3 separate regions of the Homo sapiens genome follow, and all the other regions are linked to region 1. Evidence: promoter capture Hi-C in 16 types of primary human blood cells and fetal thymus (Javierre and others, 2016). All regions are on one chromosome and are shown on one strand. The core of a region is centred on a gene start or on the middle of the fragment in contact, and the rest is flanking DNA. Distances in the headings are between cores, read along the strand shown. Region 1 holds the start of MKX (mohawk homeobox). Region 2 has its middle 63 kb from the start of MPP7-DT. Region 3 holds the start of MIR8086 (microRNA 8086).

Region 1 (2,577 bases), core at 59-2,558:
AGGAGCAAGTCCGCGCGGCCGCGGAGCCGCAGAGTTACAGCCCCAAGGCGCGCGGCGGACTTCGCCCGCCCCATCTCCTCGCCTCGCGCCTCGGGACAGCTCCCGTTTCCTCCGAGCGGCCTCAGCTTCGCTGCCAGCGCCCCCTTTGCCCGTCCAGCCGCGGCATGGGCTGCTACTCCACTAACACACGCGCGCGCGCATACACACACACACACACACACACACACACACACACCCTTTGCCTCGCCAAGCGCCCACACTCGCCAACGCCCCCGCCCCGCCCTTCGGCCACCGCAGCAGAGGCCACGCGTGACATTTAGGACCACGCGTGACCACCGCGATCAAACGACGGCTACGGTCTGTGTTCGTAGGGAAGTGAAGTCAGACCTCTGCTGGATGTCGTGTGTCCCCTAGGACTGCGTCCTCCCGCGCAGACAGGTACGTGCCTGGGGTGTGCACATAGCCTCGGTGATAAGTGTCAAAGAGAATTTTCGTGCTTGCAGCCCCTGTTCTACAGTCAAGACTCGCGTTGGTGTTTTCTTTTAAAATCATGCCCTTAGGGATGTGTGTTCATGCTGCTTTATTTGTACAAGACACCCTTCCCCGGCCCGGCCTTCTCCGAGCCACCCCAGCGCGTCCTCCTAGATGCGACGACGTGTTTTTCCTAGCGAAGTCATCACGAGGTTAGCCACCTCGGACACTTCCCCGGCAGCCCCAAGCCCACGCAGAGATCGCAGACACAGACACCCGGCGCGCTGTAGGTCTGCAGGCAGCAGGCTCAGAGGCAAGCGATGGCAAAGGTCCGAGCGCTGTCCTGTCGCAAGGGGTCCGGGGGCGTGTGAACCACACTTGCTGACCCTCCCAGGACTCCCGCGCGCGGCCACCCGCGCCTCTTCTCAAATCACTTACCCCGATTCACTCCAGACTGTGGCCGGGGAGGTCACTCCCTGCAGAAGTGTCCCCCTCCCCCAACGCCGGCGAATAATTTTAAAGCAAAGGAGGCGCGGCCAGGTGGGCTCCCAAGCTCCGCGCAGACCCTTGGGCCAGCCTTGGCCGCTACCCGAGCGCCTCTCCACCAGACCTTGGAGGGAAGTTGGGGGAAGGGCGGGAGAGCACCGGCGCCCAGGGCGCAGGGGCCAGAGCGAGCCTGGCGTTCCGCCGCAGCCGGCTGAGACTCGGCGACGCGGGGGCTGTACCTGTGGCTGCGGGGCCGACGGCCGGCTGCAGGGCGGCTGGCTCTCCCGCCTCGAGACTAGGCGCACTCCCATCCCCGCCGCATGTTCTCCACGCGGGCTCCAGCGCGCTCACCACCGCCACCGCCGTCGTCTCGGCTTTATTTACCCAGCCCGGCGCGCGCCGCCCGGGAACAGGAATAGCGAGGCCTTCTCATGTTTCCTGACTGCCGGTCCCAGCCGGCGAACATCCTGCGGGCGCGGTATCCACGTTCCCGGGCGGGTGGAGAGGAAGCGTCCGCGCCCGCCCGGCCGCGGGGGCTGCTGTTAACCCCTAGCAGAGGAGCCGCTGCCGGGGAGCCCCGGGCCCGCCGAGTCCTCCGGAGCCGGGCGCGGCTCCCAGATCCGCCGGCCTTGCAGTCGTGGAGCAGACGGGGCTTTTCCCTTCGCACTTTAGGAGAGAAATTGGAGAAGCTGCCGGGAGCGCTCGGCTCCGGCTCCAGAAGCTGAGAGGCTGCGGTGCAAATCCCGTGTCTTAGCTGGCCCGATTGCCGGAAATTTCACTGCGCGTGGCTAGGCGGGAGAGGCCACTGTGACGCGCCCTGTATTTTCCTCTCGATTAGCTGGAGGGAAGTTAGAGCTCCGTTTTGCACCTACAGCCCTGGAGCGTATTGCGGGAAGTGCTAGTGCCCAGGAGCCTCTTTTCTGATGTCACTGGGCTTCTGGGGTCCTAGTTGTCTCAGTCAAAGCCAGGCACACATTCACCTCCGGGGCAAGGGCTGGTGAGGCTGCCCTCGCCGCTGGGTATAGGGATGGGGGAAAGCAAGGATGGGATGAGTTCAGCCCAGGTGGCCAACCCGCGGTGGCCCAAGTGCAGAAGAGGAAGCGCGCCCAAAGCCAAGGATCTGCACGCAGCAAAGGAGATGGAACTTAGAAGAATCACAAGCTGGGACACAGGGCAAAGAGAGAGAATGGCTACCAGATTCTCTGATTGATGATACTTTGCTTCCTAACATTACCGCAAATATAAGTAGCGAAAGCGGCGGTTTAGGTGCAACTGCAAGCTCAGAGCTTCTGGCAGCCCAGAAGATCCCCAAGGTGCCAACACGAAGCTGCCTGCGCTCTCGCCGAAGGCCCTGTGGTCCTAGCGAACTTTCGCCCTTTTTAAAGAACAAACTTAGATTTCCCCCCACCAAGCTTAAAGAAATAGCGCCATTTGTCCTTTTCCCCTCTAAATGCGGCTGGCCAGAGCCGGGGCAGTGGCCCACCTTAGCATCTTCTTCGTGTGTGTGTGTGTGTGTGCGCGTGTGTGTGTGTGTGTTTGTGTGTTGGGGGGGTCGCTAGAAGTGCTTAAAATATATACCAAAACTATTATTTTAAAGACTAATCACACCCTCAAATTTCA
Region 2 (2,577 bases), core at 45-2,544, 620 kb after region 1:
TAGGCAACAGAGCGAGACCCTATCTCAAAAAAATAAAAATAAAAAAACAAAGTCTACCACCACCCTATCACCTAAAAGCCATTATTACTGCCTCAGAAAAGTTAGCCAACTTAATGATTATAATTAAGAAAACTTTTCTAACAGAAAGTGCTATGATGATCTATTACACAAATTATTTTGAAAAACATTTTTTAAAAAATGATACTAATGAAAAAAAATCACAACAGGTATAATACAACCTAAACTCATTTACAAGTATGAAACCCCCACACATCCTAGCCTTGATTTTAAAATAATACTGAAATATTTACAAGTCAAACATTCTTAAGTTTATATATATATATATAAAATAAAATACATATATTTTTACAGACAGAGTTTTGCTCTGTTGCCCAGGCTGGAATGCAGTAGTGCAATCTCAGCTCACTGTAACCTCTGCCTCCCAGGCTCAAGCAGTTCTCAAGCCTCAGCCCCCTGAGTAGCTGGGACTACAGGTGCACACCACCACGCCCTGCTAATTTTTTTATTTTTAGTAGAGACAGGGTTTCACTATGTTGGCCAGGCTGGTCTCGAACTCCTGATCTCAGGTGATCTGCCTGCCTCGGCCTCCCAAAGTGCTGGGATTACAGACGTGAGCCACTGCGCCCAGCCTTAAGTTATGTTTAAAAAAAAACATTATAAAAGTGCAATTTTTAAAAATCCTAATGCAAGAAGACAATATGGAGACAATAAAGGGGTTTTATCCTAAGTACTACTTTGGGACCCTGGAAATGTTTTAAAAGACTCAATTGTTGCTACCACGTGACCTGGCTTCATATCTTTTTCCAGTCCAGGTTGTGGCACATGAAATCTAGAGCTCTCCTATTGCCTGCTGTGGAAGACAGAAATTACAGAGGAAGGAGAGGCTCACAGAGAAAAGAAGGAAAAATAATAAGGAAGAGGAAAGACAGAATAGGAAAGAGTTGGAGGAGAAAAACAAAAATAAAACAGGTTGAGAAAAATAGGATAAGTGAAAAAAGGAGGAAGAAGGAGAAAGAGTGATGAAAACAACATATGAAGGAAACTGAAAAGTGAGCTGCTTATGCAGATTTAGGGGTAAAGGAAAAGCTTCACCTCCGCCCTCTGAAAGATGTGCTGAACATGAATGGACAATAGCCAGGTTAATAGAAGAAAACAGCAAACAAATGTATGTAATGTGCATTAGCACAGGGGAGTCACAGAAGGATGATTACCCAGTAACCCAATGAGGCTCAGTTGCTTTTATATCCTTCTTTGTGGAGGAATGGGAGAAAAGGGAAATATGGCTATTTTTAGACGTAGTGAATGATTTATAGGGGAGATGAATGAGCCCCATGCTCAGACAATGGTAAGTAAATGATTCTCTTTGGAAATTGAATGGGATCAGAGAACAGATGATAGTTTGGGACAAAGTTCATCTGGGCTCCAGGTGTGGTGTTTCACTTTCAGTCTCCTCTGTGATACAAGCTTTAATCTTCTCAGGTTAATGAAATTTCAGGGAGGATATTGAAGGCAATTGTGTTCCTTTTTGGCGGGTCCAGTTTCTACCTAGATTAGGGAACTTCAGAGAACATTCTCTTCTTGTGCATTTGGGAGAGACAGAAGGTGAAGAGACAGGAGTTGGAGGTGGGGAGAAGGTCAGAGTGAACTTGAGGCTGCTTCTTTATTTCAGTATGTCAAAGCACCATATTTTGGGGTATCGTTTGCTGATCCCCAACATGTATGCAGTGTTTACATATAATTTGCTTCTATCTTTATAGACTGGGGTGTATAATCCAGTGGTTTTCAGATTTGCTTTCATTGTTACTATTTAAAAAGCTAAAGGGTACAACGTTCATTATTTGGGTGATGGGTAAGCTAGAAGTCCAGTCCCACCAGGATGCAACACACCCATGTAACAAACATGCACGTGCACCCCCTGAATCTAAAATAAAATAGCTAGAAGCTGGGCGTGACTGTTCATACCTGTAATCCCAGCACTTTGGGAGGCTTGGGCAGGTGGATTGCTTGAGCTCAGGAGTTCAAAACCAGCCTGGGCAACATAGCAAGACCCCATCCCTACAAAAAATACAAAACTTAACCAGGTGTAGTGGTGCACACCTGTGGTTCCAGCTACTCAGGAGGCTGAGGTGGGAGGATAGCTGGAGCCTGGGAGGTTGAGGCTGCAGTAAGCCATAATTGCACCACTGCACTCCAGCCTGGGTGACAGAGCAAGACCCTGTGTCATAAAAAATAAAAATAAAAATAGATAGAAAGTCTTATAATTTTCTTTTTCTTCTCACCCACCCATGACATTAATCTAGAATTAGGTGGAGCAGGCAAAAGAGGAGAGATTGGGCCCCTGGGAATTTGTACCGAGTCGCAAATGGCTCATGAGTTACTGAGAACCCTCACTGGAGAACACGTGCCTTGTGGAAACCCTCTTGTGATATAAGCAGCAGGGGCACCCCTGCCAGTTTCAAAATCGTGTGACAAATGGACACAGACCTGTGCCCCCCACTGTCAGAGCCTATCTGCTCTCTACAGGGGCTTCCTTTTGAAGAGTCAAGCTTCTTGCCA
Region 3 (2,577 bases), core at 34-2,533, 540 kb after region 1:
ATTTCTAATATGGTAAACATTGATAGATATAACTCATGTAAAGCAAAGGTCTTTGAGGTCCTTAATAATTGTTAAGAGCGTGAAGCGGTACTGAAACAAGTCTGAAAACTGCAGCTCCAAGGATATGGAGCTGAGGTCAAGGCTGTGCTTGTTCAAGTGAGCCTTCAGGAATTACCTTATTCTTTGAGTTCCTGTTTGAACAAACGCTAAAAGTTGGAAGCTCAGCAGAGCCCAATGTCTGGCCTAGAGCACCAAGAACCACCAGCCACAGCCATCCTGAGAAAGGGCCTTATGAGCAGAATATTTTGTATTAGGCTCGGGTGTGAGGTTAGAAGACCTCGGGTGGGGGAAGTCAGCAGCACTTTTTCCTTCTTAGCTCAGCACATACCTCTTTCTTGAGATTCTGGTCTCAAAAATAGCTAACCAGGCCAGGCATGGTGGCTCACACCTGTAATCCCAGCACTTTGGGAGGCCGAGGTGGGCGGATCATTTGAGGTCAGGAGTTCGAGACCAGCCTGGCCAAAATGGTGAAACCTCGTCTCTACTGAAAATACAAAAAATTAGCCAGGTGTGGTGACACACACTTGTAGTCTCAGCTACTCAGGAGGCTGAGGCAGGAGACTCGCTTGAACCCAGGAGGCGGAGGTTGCAGTGAGCCAAGACCATGCCACTGTACTCCAGCCTGGGCAACAGAGCCAGACTCCATCTCAAAAAAAAAAAAAAGCTAACCATATCAGTCCAGACTAGCAGACTAGTGGATTAAGGAAGCTGAGATGAACTGTTTCCCGTGCGCTTCCTCCTCTGGTTAACTCAAGAAATATCAAAACAGCCATCCCAACCAACAGAAATCTCTGCCTTTTTAACAGACTGGTAAATTCTTCAGGACCAGACTTAACACAAAAGTCACTTAAATCTTAAGAACTGGGGCAAGAAGTGCAGTCTCAGCTCTCCAATATTTTTTTGCGTGTTTAAGAGATGTGTGGCCAAGAGCTCACAAATACAGTGTCTAAGGTGAGTGGGCCACTATGGAGACTTTGCCCTTGAATCTGCGTGAAACGGCAAGGTTCTGAGCAAATGAGTGACAGGATCCACCCGAACCCACTCTGGGCTTTGGGTGGAGAAATGGAGAAAAGGTTTTAGGGGCAGGGGCAAGAGCAGAGAAGTCACTACAGTAAGCCACATGACAGATAATGATTTACTTCTTCCCAAAAAGGCCGAAACATTGATTTTATTTTTTTCCTCTTTGAGACAGAGTCTCATGCTGTCACCCAGGCTGGAGTACAGTGGTATAATCTCGGCTCACTGCAACCTCCGCCTCCCTGGCTCAAGCAATGCTCCCATCTTAGCCACCCAAGTAGCTGGGACCATAGGCATGTGCCACCACGTCCAGCTAATTTTTGTATTTTTTGTAGAGATGGGGTTTCACTATGTTGCCCAGGTTGGTCTCAAACTCCTGAGTTCAGGCCATCCATCTGCCTCGACCTCCCAAGGTGTTGGGATTACAGGCGTGTGCCACTGAGCCCAGCCAAACCATTGATTTCTAATGCTATTACGCTACTATTGATACATACAGTACATAAAGATCTTCTATTAGTTTCTCTTGGAGCAATAACAAAATAAAAGTATGCCTTGTATTGATGCCCTATATCCTTTACTAAGTGGCCCCACTCACGAATTACAGTCTTTTTACTTTCCTTTTTTTTTTTTTTTTTTTAACATAGAGAGTATTTCCAGCATATACTAAACTGGAGGAAAGAGTATAATACTACAAGGAAACTTCTTGAACTTCTTACCTACCTTCAATTTATGGCCAGTCTTACTTTATCTGCAACTGCCCCACCTCCCCATCCCAGCTTATTATAAAGTCATTTTTAATCAGATTTTGTTTTGTTTTGTTGAGATAAGAGATTCGCTTTTGTTGCGCAGGCTGGAGTGCAATGGCACAATCTCGACTCACTGAAACCTCTGCCTCCCAGGTTCAAGCGATTCTCCTGTCTCGGCCTCCCGAGTAGCTGGGATTACAGGCGCATGCCACCACAACCAGTTAACTTTTGTATTTTTAGTACAGATGGGGTTTCATCACATTGGTCAGACTGGTCTCGAACGCCTGACCTCAGGTGATCCACCCACCTCAGCCTCCCAAAGTGCTGGGATTACAGGCATGAGCCACCACGCCCGGCCCCAATCAGTTTTCTTATTAAACAAAAAGGATTTTAGGAAAACAGACTAACACGTGAAAGAAGTAACTCACCTAGAATCTTAATGCCCATTACTGATATGAATTGAACTGTTTTTATTTGAACATTCACACTCATACAGATATGAATTAACAGTACATGGACAATATAGAGTTGTACATGAAAATTAACTTATTCTCTTGTTACAAAATTAGGATTATCCTGATGACACGATTTTGTAAACTTTTGCCACCATATATTAACAATGTCCATGGAGAAGAAGAATAAATGCCTACTGCTGCACAGTTTAGGATGTTTCTAGTATTTCAGGATATTAGAATATTATCATGAACAGCTACATATATAAATTTAGTGAACATCTACTAACATGTACTAGCAA

Evidence for each region. Contacts are between HindIII fragments. The CHiCAGO score rates a contact against its expected background, and 5 or more counts as called.
Region 2: a fragment that was not itself captured here is called in contact with the fragment with the promoter of MKX in region 1 in 1 of 17 cell types (naive CD8 T cells); the score reaches 5.8 in naive CD8 T cells.
Region 3: a fragment that was not itself captured here is called in contact with the fragment with the promoter of MKX in region 1 in 3 of 17 cell types (endothelial precursors, naive CD4 T cells and naive CD8 T cells); the score reaches 5.8 in endothelial precursors.

Annotation. Positions count from the first base shown.
Region 1 is chr10:27,744,511-27,747,087 of GRCh38, forward strand. MKX (mohawk homeobox) reads right to left here and starts at 1,309. Exons shown (of 7, transcript NM_173576.3): 1 at 1,197-1,309. It overlaps MKX-AS1 (MKX antisense RNA 1), which reads left to right and starts at 105. Exons shown (of 2, transcript NR_121652.1): 1 at 105-438. RefSeq lists an enhancer at 800-1,390. The HindIII fragment of the contact is 8,324 bases long and covers 1-2,367 here.
Region 2 is chr10:28,364,654-28,367,230 of GRCh38, forward strand. No RefSeq gene overlaps it. Among named protein-coding and RNA genes, the nearest start is that of MPP7-DT, 63 kb to the left of the region's middle. The HindIII fragment of the contact is 378 bases long and covers 1,106-1,483 here.
Region 3 is chr10:28,288,592-28,291,168 of GRCh38, forward strand. The region is part of intron 1 of MPP7 (MAGUK p55 scaffold protein 7); the gene reads right to left. MIR8086 (microRNA 8086) reads right to left here and starts at 759; the gene lies at 667-759. The HindIII fragment of the contact is 3,927 bases long and covers 1-2,577 here.